Regions from separate parts of the Homo sapiens genome. Here region 2 is linked to region 1. Evidence: promoter capture Hi-C in human tissues and cell types (Jung and others, 2019). All regions are on one chromosome and are shown on one strand. Each heading gives the region's core, a stretch centred on a gene start or on the middle of the fragment in contact. The rest is flanking DNA. Distances are from core to core; before and after follow the strand shown.

Region 1 (7,926 bases), core at 4,389-6,888:
TTACAAGGTTTTCAACAAAAGTGAAGTTTGCTAAAAGTTAACAGCGTAGCATGTATTATAGTAACTTCTAATCTGGTAGCCTTAGACAGTCTAGTCCAAAGACATAAAGTTTGCTTTAAAAAATTTTTTTATGCAAAAAATGTATAATTTAAAAGTAATAAGGCCTCCTATTATTGAAGAAACAGTTTATGTACAAGGTGTATAAGAAAAGTAAAATATACCTATAGTAAAAAGATTATAAGGAGGCATAAGAATGTGGATTTTTACCTATATTAAAAAGTTAAAAAAATTATTGTTTGAAAGTTTAAGCAAGTTTTAAAACATTAATTGTAAAGAAAATTCTGTGTGTAAACATATTAGCTAAAGTTAAAAAGGTATCATCCAGTTTTTCTGTGAAACGGACATCAAAGTAAAAATGCAACAGGTTTTTTCTTAAAGCATCAACCTGCTCTTTAACAAAAATTACAAAAAGTTAAAAAGAGTCTACAAAATCTAACCTTATGGTCAAACATGAAAAATTAGATAAATATGTCTACAAAGTTTCATTAAAATTAAATTTAACATTAGTAACACACTAATATAAAAGTAAAATTTAGCTTATCTGGTATAAAAATCATACAAGAAGCATTATTAAATATAAAATGGTGTTCAGCTTTCTTTGGTCTAAAAACTAATAAAAATCGGTGCTAAAGGAAGCATTCATTTTACTAGAGGATGATAGAAGTTAAAGACTTAAAACAAACTTTGGCAATTGAGACAGCATACCAAGATGCAAATGCCTGGTTGAAATAGATCAAATATTCCATCTGCACATTAAACAAAAGCAATTGTTATGCTTGTGCACATGGCAGGCCAGAGGCCCTGATTGTCCCCCTTCCACTAAGGTGGTCCTGTAGTTGACCAGGTGTGGGCTGCATGGTAGCTCTTTTCCAGGATTCTACAGCCTGGAGTAACATATAGCTCTCTCTGCTATATCCCGAAGTCCCTGCGGATCAGCCCCCGAGGGCCTTCCAGCTTCCGTCTCCCAATACTAAGTTCACTTCTTGTATCTCACGGCAGAGAGGAGATTTAGCATTCCTTGGAGACCTGAAAGGATGCAGTGAGCTTAAGAATTTTCAAGAGCTTATCAATCGGTCAGCCCTTGTTCATCTCTGAGCAGATGTGTGGTGGTATTGTAGTAGACCTTTAGTAGGCACTCTGCCGAATAACTAGAGTGGCACTTATGGTTTAGTCCATTTCACCCTGGTATTTCATCAACCAGAAAAAAAAAAAAGAAAAACTCATGTCAGCCCCAGCCCTGAGGCTACCTGACCTGACAAAACTCTTTGCACTCTATGTGTCAGAAAGAAAAAAAAAAATGGCAGTTGAAGTTTTAACCCAGACTGTAAGGCCCTGGCCAAGGCCAGTAGCCTGACTCTCAAAACAACTAGACGAGGTTTCCCAAGGCTGGCCCCCATGTCCAAGGGCCCTGGCAGCAATGGCCCTGTTAGCACAAGAAGCAGATAAGCTAACTCTTAGGCAAAACATAAACATAAAGTCCCTTTAATAAATAACAAAAGACATCATTAGCTAATAAACGCTAGACTAACTAGATACCAAAGCTTGCTCTGTGAAAATCCCCACATAACCATTGAAGTTTGCAACACCCTAACCCCGCCACCTTACTCCTAGTATCAAAGAGCCCAGTTAAACATAACTGTTTAGAGGTGCTGGACTCAGTTTATTCTAGTGGGCCCAACCTCTGAGACCACCCTTAAACATCAGTAGACTAGGAGCTGTACGTAGATAAGAGCAGCTTCGCCAACCCCTGCAAAGTGACTCTGAAGAAGATGACAAGCCCTGCTGCAGTCACACCCGGAAGCTGACTGGTCCACGCACGACTGAAGCAGGAAGAAACTCATCGCAGGACTCATTTTCCTTAAAATTTAGACTTGTACAGTAAGGACTTCAACTGACCTTCCTCAGACAAAGAACTGTTTCCAGTATCTACATCAAGTCACTGAAGTTAGACAAAAGATTGCTACAGTCCTATTATTTTATAGTTATTATAAGTGTACCAGGATTCTAAAAGAAATTTGTTTGTATAATGCTATTCTATCCAAAGTATGTAGCCCAAGGAATAACCAACCTGATGTGTGTTATAACCCATTTTAAGCCTCCCATGATTACAGTTTTTAAAATAAAATTAAAGACTAGTCTTTTTCTAAGTGACACAAGTAAAATAATAGCTAGAACAGAAGAGGGGTCCCCAAAAATATAACCTTAAAATTTGATGCTTGTGCCACTATTGATAGTAAGCAGCATAGAATAAGATGCAGTTCTCTAAATTAGAAAAAAAGTTACACAGTTAAAAAAAAAAATAAGTATATCTGTCAAGAATCATATTTATGTGAGATGTGTCAATACTAGTCTTATGTCATTTGGGCTACTTAAAAAGAAGATAAAAATAATCCTGTTTAGCTCCAAAAAAGAAAAGTCAGCCCCTCTTGCATGAGTGGGGGCTGCAGCCTTTTAAAATTGATAATCACAAACCCATCAGACCCAAAGTACAATTAAAAAAAAAATGTAAATTAAGCATTGATGAAAAAAAACTAGATCCTAGCGTAAACATCCTAATAAAAAAAGAAGTTGAAAAATGCTCTCCAGAACCAGTATTTCAGGCTTTCTATGATGAAATAAATGTGCCAGTACCTAAGATTCCAGGAAAAACTAAAAATTTGTTTTTGCAATTAGCCTAACATGAGGCCCAGTCTCTACAAGTCACCTCATGTTATGTTTGTAGAAGAACTGTAACAAGAGATCAATGGCCATAGGAAGCCCGAGAATTAGTTCCTACAAACCCAGTTCCTGATGAATTCCCAGCCCAAAAGAACCACCCTGACAATTTTTAAGTTCTAAAAGTCTCAATTATTAGACGGTATTGCATAGCTAGAGAAAGAAAAAAATTCACTCATCATCCTGTAAGGCGGCTTAGTTGTCTTAGGCAAAAGTTGTATAATAGTACCACAAAAACAGTTACATACTAAAGTTCCAGTTACACAAAAAGAAATCCATTCAGTAAATTTCCAAAGTTGCAGACTGTTGAGGCCCACCCGGAATTCCACCAGGACTAGACGGCCCCCACCAGGTTATACCAGATACATAGACAGAGCTCATGCTAAGCTGCCTGATCAGTGGACAGGTAGCTGTGTAATTGGCACCAGTAAGCCATCTTTCCTCTTACTGCCCATAAATACAGGTGAACTTCTAGGCTTCCCAGTCTATGCTTCCTGTGAAAAACGAAGCATAGCCATAGGTAATTAGAAAGATGATAAATGACCTCCTAAAGAATTATATAATACTGTAAGCCTGCCACTTAGACACAAGACAGCTCATGAGGTTATCGAACCCCCATCTACATGCTCAACCGAATCATACAGTTGCAAGCTGTTTTAAAAATTATTACTAATAAAACCGGTCAAGCCTTGACTGTTCTTGCCCGGCAAGAGACTCTGATAAGAAATGCTATCTATCACCGGGCGCGGTGGCTCACGCCTGTAATCCCAGCACTTTGGGAGACTGAGGCGGGCAGATCACAAAGTCAGGAGATCAAGACCATCCTGGCTAACACAGTGAAACCCCGTCTCTACTAAAAATACAAAAAATTAGCCGGGTGCGGTGGCAGCACCTGTAGTCCCAGCTACTAGGGAGGCTGAGGCAGGAGAATGGCGTGAACCCGGGAGGTGGAGCTTGCAGTGAGCTGAGACTGCACCACTGCACTCCAGCCTGGGTGACAGAGCGAGACTCCATCACCAAAAAAAGAAAAAGAAATGCTATCTATCAAAATAGACTAGCTCTCGACTACTTGCTAGCAGCTGAAGGAAAAGTTTGTAGAAAATTTAACCTTACTAATTGTTGTCTACACATAGATCATCAGAGGAAAGTAGTTGAAGACATAGTTAAAAATATAACAAAACTGACACATGTACCCGTACAGGTGTGGCACGGACTCAATCCAGGAGCCATGTTTAAAAATTAGTTCCCAGCAATAGGAGGATTTAAAACTCTTATAATAAGAGTTATAATAGTAATAAAAAGCTGCTTACTGCTCTCTTGTTTGCTACCTGTACCTCTTCAAATGATAAAAAGCTTCATCGCTACCTTAGTTCACCAAAATGATTCAGCACAAGTGTACTATATGAATCACTATCAATCTATTACACAAAAAGACATAAGTAGCAAAAACAAGAGTAAGAACTCCCACTAATAAAAAGTGAGACTCTCAAAAAGAAGAAATAAAGGAAGACAGAGACCCTCTCATATTGTTTTATACTCAGTACCTGTTTTAAGAAAAAACAACAAGAAAGTAAAACCAAAGACAGGCAGCCCCGGGGCCAGGCCCGAAACCAGGCCTGGGCCTGCCTGGCCTAAACCCAGTAGTTAAAAATCAACTTATGGCTTAGAACCCAATGTTATTCATAGATTCCAGACATTGTATAGAAGAACATTGTAAAACTCCCCGCTCTGTTCTGTTTCTCTCTGACCACCGGTGCATGCATCCCCTGTCACGTACCGCCTGCTCGCTCAAATCAATCACGACCCTTTCATGTGAAATCTTTAGTGTTGTGAACCCTTAAAAAGGACAGAAATTGTGCATTCAGGGAGCTCGGATTTCAAGGCAGTAGATTGCTGACGCTCCCAGCTGAATAAAGCCCTTCCTTCTACAACTCAGTGTCTGAGAAGTTTTGTCTGCCGCTAGCCCTGCTACACACTGTTACAATGTCAATGCTTTTTTTAAAAATCCCTTTTTTTCTTATTGAGGCGGAGGAAGGAGCTCTGGGGTAGAGGGTCTTACTTTGTCGCCCACGCTGGCCTGGACCTCCGGGCTCAGCGGTCTTGCGGCTCCTGCTTCCTGAGTAGCCGGGACCCCAGACTCGCCACCTCGCCCACATCCCTGCTGTGTTTAAGCAGGAGGTGGTGACCTCACTCCTCCCTGGCCTGAGGCCTCCGCTCCGCACCCCAGGCGGTGGCCCTGAGGAAGTCTCTGGAGCTGAGCACAGGGTGGATTCTCCCACCCCAGTGAATGGAAAATAGAAAGGGAGAGGATTTGCTATTCTGTTCTGTGGGCCGTCAGCAGGAAATTGGAGGTTTCGCTGAGGCAGAGCTTTGTATTTCGCATTCTAGTTTGCATTCCTTCCCTTGACAACTTCCAGATTTTGGACATAAATTGCTAAAATTAATTTCAATAGCAAGGAACTTTCCTGGGTCCAATGACCGCCTCACGTTGACTTCTCAGGGAGGTACTATTTCAATGACTGCTGAGCTGCTCCAGCCTCACTGGCGGCTTTCGCCTCCAAAACCTGGAAAAAAGGCGCAGAGAGCGAGATGGAGGAAAGCTCAGGACCCACCCGCTTCTCGCCCCCGCCGACCCCTCATAGCCCAGGACTCTTCTCCCAGCCAGGCCCCTTGTTTCTCAACCCCGCCCCGGCCTTGTTCAGGCCCCGCCCACCTCTTCGCGTCTCATCCCGGCCTAGTCCAGGCCCCGCCTACCTTCTCGGGGGTCCCGCCCAGGCCTGGCCTCTGTCCTGCGCTGATTGGCATAGACCCGGAAGCGGATGGCAGGGACTGAAGGTCACACCACAGCGCGTGAGTTTCGCTCTGTTTTATGTGTGCTTCCCAGTCCTGTGGTGCTGCTATACCGGGGACGTTGAGTCCCCACAGACCTGGAAATTGCGGCCCCTCTTTCTCAACCCAGAGCAAATTGAGACGTCCGGGTGAGAGTCCGTGAGTCCCTTCGAGTTTAAAGTGGCCCTGAGGCAGGTCCCGTCCTCGGTCTTTCTGCAGTGGGGTCGTGCAGACACCTCCTATCGCGGAATTTTCCTTCTCAAAACCCTTCCTGACCTGTCCTCCCGCCTCGCGCTGTTTCAAGTCCTCACCCGCGAGCTGGATTCCAGCCCTAGGCGCCTCCCACCGTCGCTCTCGGCGGCTTCAGGAGCGCCGCGCCTCAACCCCGGTTCCCGGGAGGCCGCGTCCTCTGCCTGGTCCTAAGATCCTGCAGACGCCACCCCTGTCCGAAGGCTCCGTCGCTCCCCACCTCCCTCCTTGTGCGGTGTTGCTACCTAGTTCCAACTCCTGGAAAACGAATATATGCAATCAAGAAAGCACTCCACAGAGGGGAGTGGGCCCGAGCCAGCGTCTCCGGGGACCCGTTTAGAAAGTTTTAGGGGGTTAAAGTATTTATTTTGAGGTCCCTATGGGCTACCCCTTATCTGGATGAAGGATTTTTGGCCCTTGGCCAACGAAATGCTGAGGTGAATTGGCCCGAGGCCGGAGCAGATGGGTGCCCTATGCAGATGAAGGTGTGGCCGGTGCTTGGCCATGGCCACTCCTGGGCTCTTTCCCTTTCTGAGACGTGGTGGAAGGAGGAGGGCGGTAGGGACAGCGGCCTTTGATCCTTTGTTACTCCGGATGGGGAGATGGGGTTTTTCCTTTTTGTCTAGTTTTAGAAAGTTTGCCTTAATTGGCCTTAGATTCGCTGCCCCCAGACCCAGGACCCAGGTATTTCTTTTTTATTCTTTTTTATTGGAGATGGGGTCTCACTCTGTTGCCCAGGCGGGAGAGCGGTGACAGGATCACAGCTCACTGCATCATCAACATCCTATGCTCAAGCGATCCTGTCACCTCAGCCTGCAGAGTAGCTGGGACCACAGCCGCGCGCCACCACACCGCGCTAATTTTTGTGTACTTGGTAGAGACGGGCTTTTGCCTTGTTGCTCAGGCTGGTCTCCAACTCCAGGGCTCAAGCGATCCAGCTGTATCGCCCTCCCAAAATGCTGGAATTACAGGCATGAGCCACCATGCCCGCCTTGTTTCTTAATTAAAAAATAAATAAATAAAAATAAAGGCCGTGTGCAATGGCTCATGCCTGTAATCCCAGCACTTTGGGAGGCCAAGGCGGGCAGATCACCTGAGGTCAGGAGTTCGAGACCAGCCTAGTCAACATGGCGAAATCTCGTGTCGAATAAAATACAGAAATTAGCCAGGTGTGATGTCGGGCGCCTGTAATCCCAGCTACTCAGGAGGCTGAGGCAGCAGAATCCCTTGGACAGGGAGGGGGAGGTTGCAGTGAGCTGAGATCATGCCACTGCACTCCAGCCTGGGGTGACAGAGCGAGACTCCGTCTGAAAAAAGTAAGATAACTACTTTTCAAATAAGCTTTGGTAGAATCTTATGAGCTCACATCATTGTTTTCCAACTATGATATGAGTTCAAAATTTTCTTCTTTGACCCTACATTTTATTAGATATATACATTTTTAGATGTATATATTTTTAACCATTTTAAAAGTTTCTCTATGAAATTTGTTGTGTTCAGTTTACATAGAAGACTGCATGCTTTCTAGTCTGTATCATATATTGGAAGCATTTACTAGTACCTGATAAATGATTTTAGGTTGTTTCTTTTTTTCTTTCTTACTTTTTTTTGAGACAAAGTCTCCCTTCTACCCCCAGGCTGGAGTGTGATGGCACGATCTCGGCTCACTGCAACCTCCGTCTTTTGGGTTCAAGCTCTTCTCCTGCCTCAGCCCCCAAGTAGCTGGGATTACAGGCGCCTGCCACCACGCCTGGCTAATTTTTGTATTTCTAATGGAGACGGGGTTTCACCATGTTGGCCAGGCTGGTCTTGAACTCCTGACCTCAGGTGATCCGCCCACCTCAGCCTCAGAAAGTGCTGGGATTACAGGTGTGAGCCACCGTGCCTGGCCAATTTTAGGTTGTTTCAATGTGTACTTTATAAAGATATCAAGGACCTATTTTGTTTGTTTGTTTTGAGATGGAGTTTTGCTCTTATTGCCCAGGCTGGAGTGCAATGGCGCGATCTTGGCTCACCACAACCTCCGCCTCCTGGGTTCAAGTGATCTCCTGCCTCAGCCTCCCCAGTAGCCGG
Region 2 (7,926 bases), core at 1,957-4,456, 200 kb after region 1:
TGGCCTCCCAATGTGATGAGATTACAGGTGTGAGCCACTGCTCCCAGCCTCGGTTTTTTTTTTGTTTTTCTTTTTGTTTTTTTGGGGGTTTTTTTTTGAGATGGAGTTTTGCTCTTGTTGCCCAGGCTGGACTGCAATGGTGCGATCTGGTGTCACTACAACGTCTGCCTCCTGGGTTCAAGTGATTCTCCTGCCTCAGCCTACCAAGTAGTTGGGATTACAGGTGCCCTCCACCACTCCTGGCTAGGTTTTTGCATTGTCAGTAGAGACAGGCTCTCACTGTGTTGGCCAGGCTGGTCTCAAACTACTGACTTCTGGTGATCTGCCCACCTCGACCTCCCAAAGTGCTGGGATTACAGGCGTGAGCCACCGTGCCTGACCACTCATGTATTCTTGATTGAAACAATTTGCTTATGTCTTAGTTGTACACCTGACCTTCTTTCCCTGTTTCCAAGGTCAATAGCTATGTGTTCACAACTCTGCATTTTATAAATGTTACTGTGATTTTCTTGTAAGGAAGAACAAACTGTCAGGAGTCAATGGCCTCAGAACCTTGCAAAAGAAGTTTGTTTCTTTTTTTTCTTTTCTTTTTTTTTTTTGGAGACGGAGTTTCGCTCTTGTCCCCCAGGCTTGAGTGCAGTGGCACGATCTCGGCTCACTGCAACCTCCGTCTCCCGGGTTCAAGTGATTCTCCTTCCTTAGCCTCCCAAGTACCTGGGATTAGAGGCATGCACTACCACTCCTAGCTAATTTTGTATTTTTATAGAGACGGGGTTTCTCCGTGTTGGTCAGGCTGGCCTCAAACTCCTGACCTCAGGTGATCCACCCGCCTCAGCCTCCCAAAGTGCTGGGATTACAGGCTTGAGCCACCGTGCCCGGCAAAAGAAATTTCTTTAGCCCAGGTTTGTGAAAGAGCCTTCTCTAATTTTCCAGGATGGGGGTGATAAGATCAACCCTTCCCATTAGTCCCTGCAGGCCCCCATGTAAGAATTCAGGCACACCTCACTCATCTCAGACCTTCTCAGGGCAACTTGGTGAAAATGTCTTCCAATCTGAGCCCCAGTGAGCCTCCTTGGAACTTGGCGATGAGGGGCTACACCAGAAAAGCTCAACCCTAGTGACTTTGACCCCTGAAATGATTGACAAAATGGAGTGCGTGTGTGGGTGTGGCTTTTTTTTTAAATTTTTTTGAGGAGAGGAGTGCCCAGTTGTGATTAGAATTTTCAATGGGATGCAGTGCCCTAAAAATGAAAAACAAAAGCAGAAGAATGGAAGAAACAGAGGTAGACTCAGACACAGAGACCATCTTCGGGGCCTTTCTCTGTATGAGGACATCACAACAAAATCTAAAGCAGGTCATGTCAGTCCCTGACAGGGAACCCTCCACCAGCTTCCCGTGTTCCCCAGGACAAAAGCCCAACCCCTCACTGTGGCTCCACAGCCCTGTGTCCAGGGCCCCTTCCACTGTCCAGCCTCCTCCTGGGAGCTTGCCCTCATCTCATGACTCTCTCCGCCCCAGTCATATTTGCTTTTCTCTTTTCCCAAACATCAAAACCCTTCCTGTCTCAGGTCGTTGTCCCTGGTTTTACCCTACGTACCCTGTCACTTTCTCCTCCTTCAGGTCTAGGCTCAGAGCTGTCGCCCATGCCCTCCCACCCCCGGCTGTAGTTCCCTTGTCCATCAGTCTGTATCACGTTACTCAGGATTCATTGTCTGCATCAATCACATCAGAAATGCATTTTTTTTTTTTTTTTTTTTTTGAGACAGAGTCACTCTATCTTTCAGCCTATGAGTGCAGCCTCTTGATCTTGGCTCACTGCAACCTCTGTCTGCTGGGTTCAAGCAATTCTGGTGCCTCAGCCTCCCAAGTAGCTGGTGTGTCTGCCACCACACCCGGCTAATTTTTGTATTTTAACTTCCATTTTATATTATTTTTGAGTCTGTCTGTCACCAAGACTGGAGTGTAGTGGCGCCATCTCGGCTCACTGCGACCTCCACCTCCCGGGTTCAAGCAATTCTCCTACCTCAGTCTCCTGAATAGCAGAGATTACAGACACTTACCAAGCCCGGCTACTTTTTGTGTATTTAGTAGAGACAGCGTTTCACCATGTTGGCCAGGCTGGTCTCGATCTCCTGACCTCAAGTAATCAGCACACCTCGGCCTTCCAGAGTGCTAGGATTACCGGATGACCCACACGCCCGGCCCATTTTTGTATTTTTAGTAGATACAGGGTTTCACCATGTTGGCCAGGCTGCTCTCAAACTCCTCAGGTCAAGTGATCCTCCCACCTATGCCTCCTAAGTAGCTGGGACCACAGACACACAGACGTGCACCACCATACCTGGCGAAGTTTTGTATTTTTGGTAGAGATGGGGTTTCACCATGTTGCTCAGGCTGTTCTCAAACTCCTGAGTTCAAGCGATCTACCTGCCACAGCCTCCTAGAGTGCTGGGATGACAGGCATGAGCCACCGCACCCAGCCTCTGCGTGGGGTTTCGTCAGGGCTGGGTCTGTGCCCTGAAGGGGAGCTCATTCCAGCCCAGCTCCCCACTGCTGCAGCTTGTGTGTGGACTCCTCCAGAAGGGGAGCGGGAGTTTCCCTGTAGGAGTTTATCATCCATGGTGAGGAGGGCAGCAGGGGGCACTATTTCCTCAGGGTGAGGTCTTTAGTTAGGCCTCTGAGCCCAAGCTAAGCCATCATATCCCCTGTGACCTGCACGTATACATCCAGATAGCCTGAAGCAACTGTAAAAATATCCTTAACTGATGACATTCCAATATTGTGATTTGTTTCTGCCCTACCCTGACTGATCAATGTGCTTTGTAATCTCCCCCACCCTTCAGAAGGCTCTTTGTAATCCTCCCCACCCTTGAGAATGGACTTGGTGAGATCCACCCCCTGCCTGCAAAGCATTGCCCCTAACTCCACCGCCTGTCCCAAAACCTATGAGAACTAATGATAATCCCACCACACTTTGCTGACTCTCTTTCCAGACTCAGCCCGGCTGCACCCAGGTGAAATAAACAGCCTCGTTGCTCACACAAAGCGTGTTTGGTGGCCTCTTCCCACAGACGTGCGTGACACTTCGCATGTGTGGTTGTGTTCCAGGGAGGGGGTGTGTTGATTCTGAGCAACAAACAACATATTTTTAACATTCAGGATTGACTCCTAAAGACTCTTGGTACATGAGGAAGAAACCCGGAAGAGGAAGAGGAAAGCAAAGGAGTCAGGGATGGCTCTTCCTCAGGTGAGATGATATTCTCGGTGGATTGTTCTGTCTCCTTCCTTTCAGAAACCCTGGGCCTTGGAGTTGGGAATCTTCTCTGAGTCTGAAGCTTCCTGCCTGATACGTTTACTCACACTCACCCATGCCTTCCCTCAGTCCCTCTCATCTCGCTTAGATTCCATCTCTGGTGACCTAGTGACATGAAGTTGGAAAGAGGCTGCACTGGGCATGGGCCTGGGAAGGGCTCACACCCAGACATGGATGGAGACGGGGTGAGGGTCCCGTGGTGTCAGTGCTGTTGGGCAGAAGGGATTGTTCAGGGGCCACATATGGATGCACTGTCAGCTCTCTGTGGAGCAGGATTAGAGCAGCTGCCAATGGAAGTCACGTATTAATGTGCACAAAGTACGTGGTAAATTCTAGAAAAGGAAACCAATAAGTGAAAATCTTTTCTGCCTGCTTTCATGTGGGGAAAAGAAAGAGAGATCAGATTGTTACTGTGTCTGTGTAGAAAGAAGTAGACATAGGAGACTCCATTTTGTTCTGTACTAAGACAAATTCTTCTGCCTTGAGATGCTGTTAATCTATGACCTTACCCCCAACCCCATGCTCTCTGAAACATGTGCTGTGTCCACTCAGGGTTAAATGGATTAAGGGCGGTGCAAGATGTGCTTTGTTAAACAGACGCTTGAAGGCAGCATGCTCCTTAAGAGTCATCACCACTCCCTAATCTTAAGTACCCAGAGACACAAACACTGCGGAAGGCCGCAGGGACCTCTGCCTAGGAAAGCCAGGTATTGTCCAAGGTTTCTCCCCATGTGATAGTCTGAAATATGGCCTCATGGGAAGGGAAAGACCTGACCGTCTCCCAGCCCGACACCCGTAAAGGGTCTGTGCTGAGGAGGATTAGTATAAGAGGAAGGCACGCCTCTTGCAATTGAGACAAGAGGAAGGCATCCGTCTCCTGCCCGTCCCTGGGCAATGGAATGTCTCGGTATAAAACCCGATTGTATGTTCCATCTACTGAGATAGGGGAAAACCACCTTAGGGCTGGAGGTGGGACATGCGGGCAGCAATACTGCTCTGTAAGGCATTGAGATGTTTATGTGTATGCATATCTAAAGCACAGCACTTGATTTTTTACCTTGTCTATGATGCAGAGACCTTTGTTCACGTGTTTATCTGCTGACCTTCTCTCCACTATTATCCTATGACCCTGCCACATCCCCCTCTCTGAGAAACACCCCAAAATGATCAATAAATATGAAGGGAACTCAGAGGCTGGCGGGATCCTCCATATGCTGAACCCTGGTCCCCTGGGCCCCCTTATTTCTTTCTCTACACTTTGTCTCTGTGTCTTTTTCTTTTCCAAGTCTCTCATTCCACCTAACGAGAAACACCCACAGGTGTGGAGGGGCAACCCACCGCTTCACTTTCATACTACATTTTTAGGTAATTGAGTGAGTTATTGTGTTTCTGGCTCCAAAAATCGAACTAATTAGAGTGGAAAGTTCATACACAGACATGAATGATAGAAGGTGTTTTATTCCATCATTAGTTTAAGAATAGGAAATCAACCTAAATAATAGCAGGAGATTCATTAAACCATTCTTAACACATTAAGCTCATGGAGACTGTGGGGTTACTGTGGAGAGGCTTGTGAAACAGGTGTTTTTGGTAAAAATGGTTACAATTTATTTTTTGAGATGGAGTCAGCCTCTGCCACCCAAGCTGGAGTGCAGTGACATGATCTCAGTTTACTGCAACCTCTGTCTTCTGGGTTCAAGTGATTCTCCTGCCTCAGCCTCCCAAGTAGCTGGGGTTATAGGCGTGTGCCACCACGCCCGGCTAATTTTTTTGTATTTTTAGTAGAGATGGGGTTTCACCATGTTGGCCAGGGTGGCCTCAAAGTTCTGACCTCAGGTTATCCACCCACCTCAGCCTCCCAGAGTGCTGGGATTACAGGCACGAGCCACCGTGCTCAGCTCTACCAATGTTTATTAAATATATATTTTGATATTTAAACATCACAGGATGGATATATTTGTTTTCTAGTAAAACTCTTAGCAAAGCTGCAGACCCTTTGCCACAAAGCATCTCCTTTCCCTGTCACGTCCTCCACCCTCTTTCCAAACTCACTGGGGAGCCGCTACTGTCAGTTCTGTGCCAAGTGTCAGAGCAAGTCTTGTACACCTGTATTTCTGCATCATTATGAGACTTTAAAAATAATTCCGTAGTAAATTAAAAAAATAAAATGTTTTATAGTTATGTTTTTACTTTAGGATTGGGGCTACATGTGATGGTTTGTTACATAGGCAAACTCATGTCATTGGAGTTTGTTGTACACCGGTATCAAGCCCAGTACCCAGTAGCTTTTTTTCTTTTCTTTTTTTTTTGACACTGAGTTTTGCTCGTTTTTTGAGTCTGGAGTATGATGGCATGATCTCGGCTCACTGCAACCTCTGCCTCCTGGGTTCAAGCAACTCTCCTGCCTCAGCCTCCTGAGTAGCTGGGATTACAAGCACATGCCTCCATGCCTGGCTAATGTTTGTACTTTTAGTAGAGACAGGGTTTCACCATGTTGGCCAGGCTGATCTTGAACTCCTGACCTCAGGTGATCCAACCCCCTTGCCCTAGCAAAGTGCTGGGATTACAGGCGTGAGCCACTGTGCCCAGCCCCATTAGCTATTTTTTCTGCTCCTCTCTCCTCCCCATCTCCACCCTCACCTAGACCCCAGCGTCTATTGTTTTCTTTGTGTTTTAGTAAATATTTTACTTTGATATTTCATCCTGCTAGTTGTGAAAATTTACATGTTGTTATGTTAGTAAACATGGCTAGCTTGCTCTTTGACATCTGCATTGGAAATTGGCTGAATGACAGTATGTGGGTCCTTTGCAATTTTTCTCTGTATAAAGAGTGCCATAGTGGCTGCATCTGAGCATGCCTGCATTCCTACAGATATCTAAAGATTCCTCCATGTCAGGCAGTTGAAAGGGTGATTGCTTCCTCTAGGAGGGGACATTTCCTGTTTTCTTAGATCTGACAAGATTCCTCCCTGTCCCCAACTATCAAAGTATCCGTTTCCAGCAAGATGAGATTCCTCTTCAGTTAAACAAAACTTGCTACTTTTTATATTTTAAAAATCTTTATATATATATATACACACACACACACACATACATATACGTACACATTGGCACACATATATGTATATATTTTGAAAATTTGCTGGATGTGGTGACTCATGTCTGTAATCCTAGCACTTTGGGAAGCTGAGGTTGGTGGGTCACCTGAGCTCAGGAGTTCAAGACAAGCCTGGCCAACATGGTGAAACCCCATCTTTACTAAAAATACAGAAGTTAGCCGGGCATGGTGGTGGGCACCGGTAATCCCAGCTACTCTGTGGCTGAGGCAGGAGAACCACTTGAACCCAGAAGGCAGAGGTTGCAGTGAACCAAGATTGCATTACTGCACTGCAGCCTGGGCGACAGAACGAGACCCTGTCTAAAAAAAAAAAAAAAAAAAAAAAAAGGAAGAAAGAAAAGATCTGGGGAAAATGACAACTTTTTTTTATTAGCATGTAGTTTCTTGCGAGTCTCTGTTTTATTATTTTGTGGACCTATATCAACAAAATGGATTTTTGTACTTTGAGTTATTCTGTTTTCATATATTTGATTTTATTTTGAGAGAAGGTCTTGCTGTGTCGCTTAGGCTGGAGAGCAATGGCGTGATCTTAGCTCACTGCAACCTCCTTCAGGCTCAAGCCATTTCCCAACCTCAGCCTCCCAAGTAGCTGGGACCACAGGTGAGTTCCACCATGGCCGGTTAATTTTTTTTTTTTTTTTTTTTTGAGATGGAGTCTCACCCGGTAGCCAGGCTGGAGTGCTGTGGCGTGATCTCGGCTCACTGCAAACTCTGCCTCCTGGGTTCAAGTGATTCTCCTACCTCAGGCTCCCAAGTATGTGGGACTACACGTGAGTGCCACCACGCCCGGATAATTTTTTGGTATTTTCAGTAGAGATGGTATTTCACCTTGTTAGTCATGACAGTCTGGATTTCATAACCTCGTGATCCGTCCGCCTCAGCGTTTTAAAGTGCTGGGATTACAGGCGTGAGCCACCTCTTCTGGCCTTTTTTTTTTTTTTTTGAGACAAAGTCTCTGTTATCCAGGCTGGAGTTCAGTGGCATGATCTCAGATCACTGCAAACTCTGCCTCCCAGGCAATTCTCCTGTTTTAGCCTCCCAAAAAGTTGGGGATTATAGTCCAGTGCCACCACCCCCAACTAATTTTTTTTGTATTTTTAGTAGAGATGGGGTTTCACCATTTTGGCCCAGCTAGTCTTGAACTCCTGCCCTCAGGTTGTAGCAGGATGAGCCACAGACAAAACTTCTCAGACACCGAGTTGTAGAAGGAAGGGCTTTATTCAGCTGGGAGCATTGGCAAGCTACTGTCTTAAAATCCGAGCTCTCTGAGTGAACAATTTCTGTCCCTTTTAAGGGCTCACAACACTAAAGATTTCACATTAAAGGGTAGTGATTGATTTGAGCAAGCAGGGGGTATGTGACAGGGGGTGCATGCGCTGGTGGTCAGAGTGAAACAGAACAGAACAGGAGGTTTCACAATGTCCTTCCATACAATGTCTGGGATCTATAGATAACATCAGTTGCTAGGTCAGGGGTGGAATTTTAATTACTAGG

Evidence for each region. The method cuts DNA at HindIII sites, captures the fragments that hold promoters and counts their contacts. A contact is called where the count stands out against the background at its distance.
Region 2: a contact is called between a fragment that was not itself captured here and the fragment with the promoter of ZNF320 in region 1, in 1 of the 25 tissues and cell types used here (liver).

Annotation. Positions count from the first base shown.
Region 1 is chr19:52,895,347-52,903,272 of GRCh38, reverse strand. It overlaps ZNF320 (zinc finger protein 320), which reads left to right and starts at 5,638. Exons shown (of 6, transcript NM_001351774.2): 1 at 5,638-5,753. RefSeq lists enhancers at 5,624-5,703, 5,904-6,103. The HindIII fragment of the contact is 8,369 bases long and covers 2,866-7,926 here.
Region 2 is chr19:52,694,473-52,702,398 of GRCh38, reverse strand. No RefSeq gene overlaps it. Among named protein-coding and RNA genes, the nearest start is that of ZNF611, 37 kb to the left of the region's middle. RefSeq lists enhancers at 3,025-3,835, 3,836-4,646, 5,458-6,269. The HindIII fragment of the contact is 5,162 bases long and covers 626-5,787 here.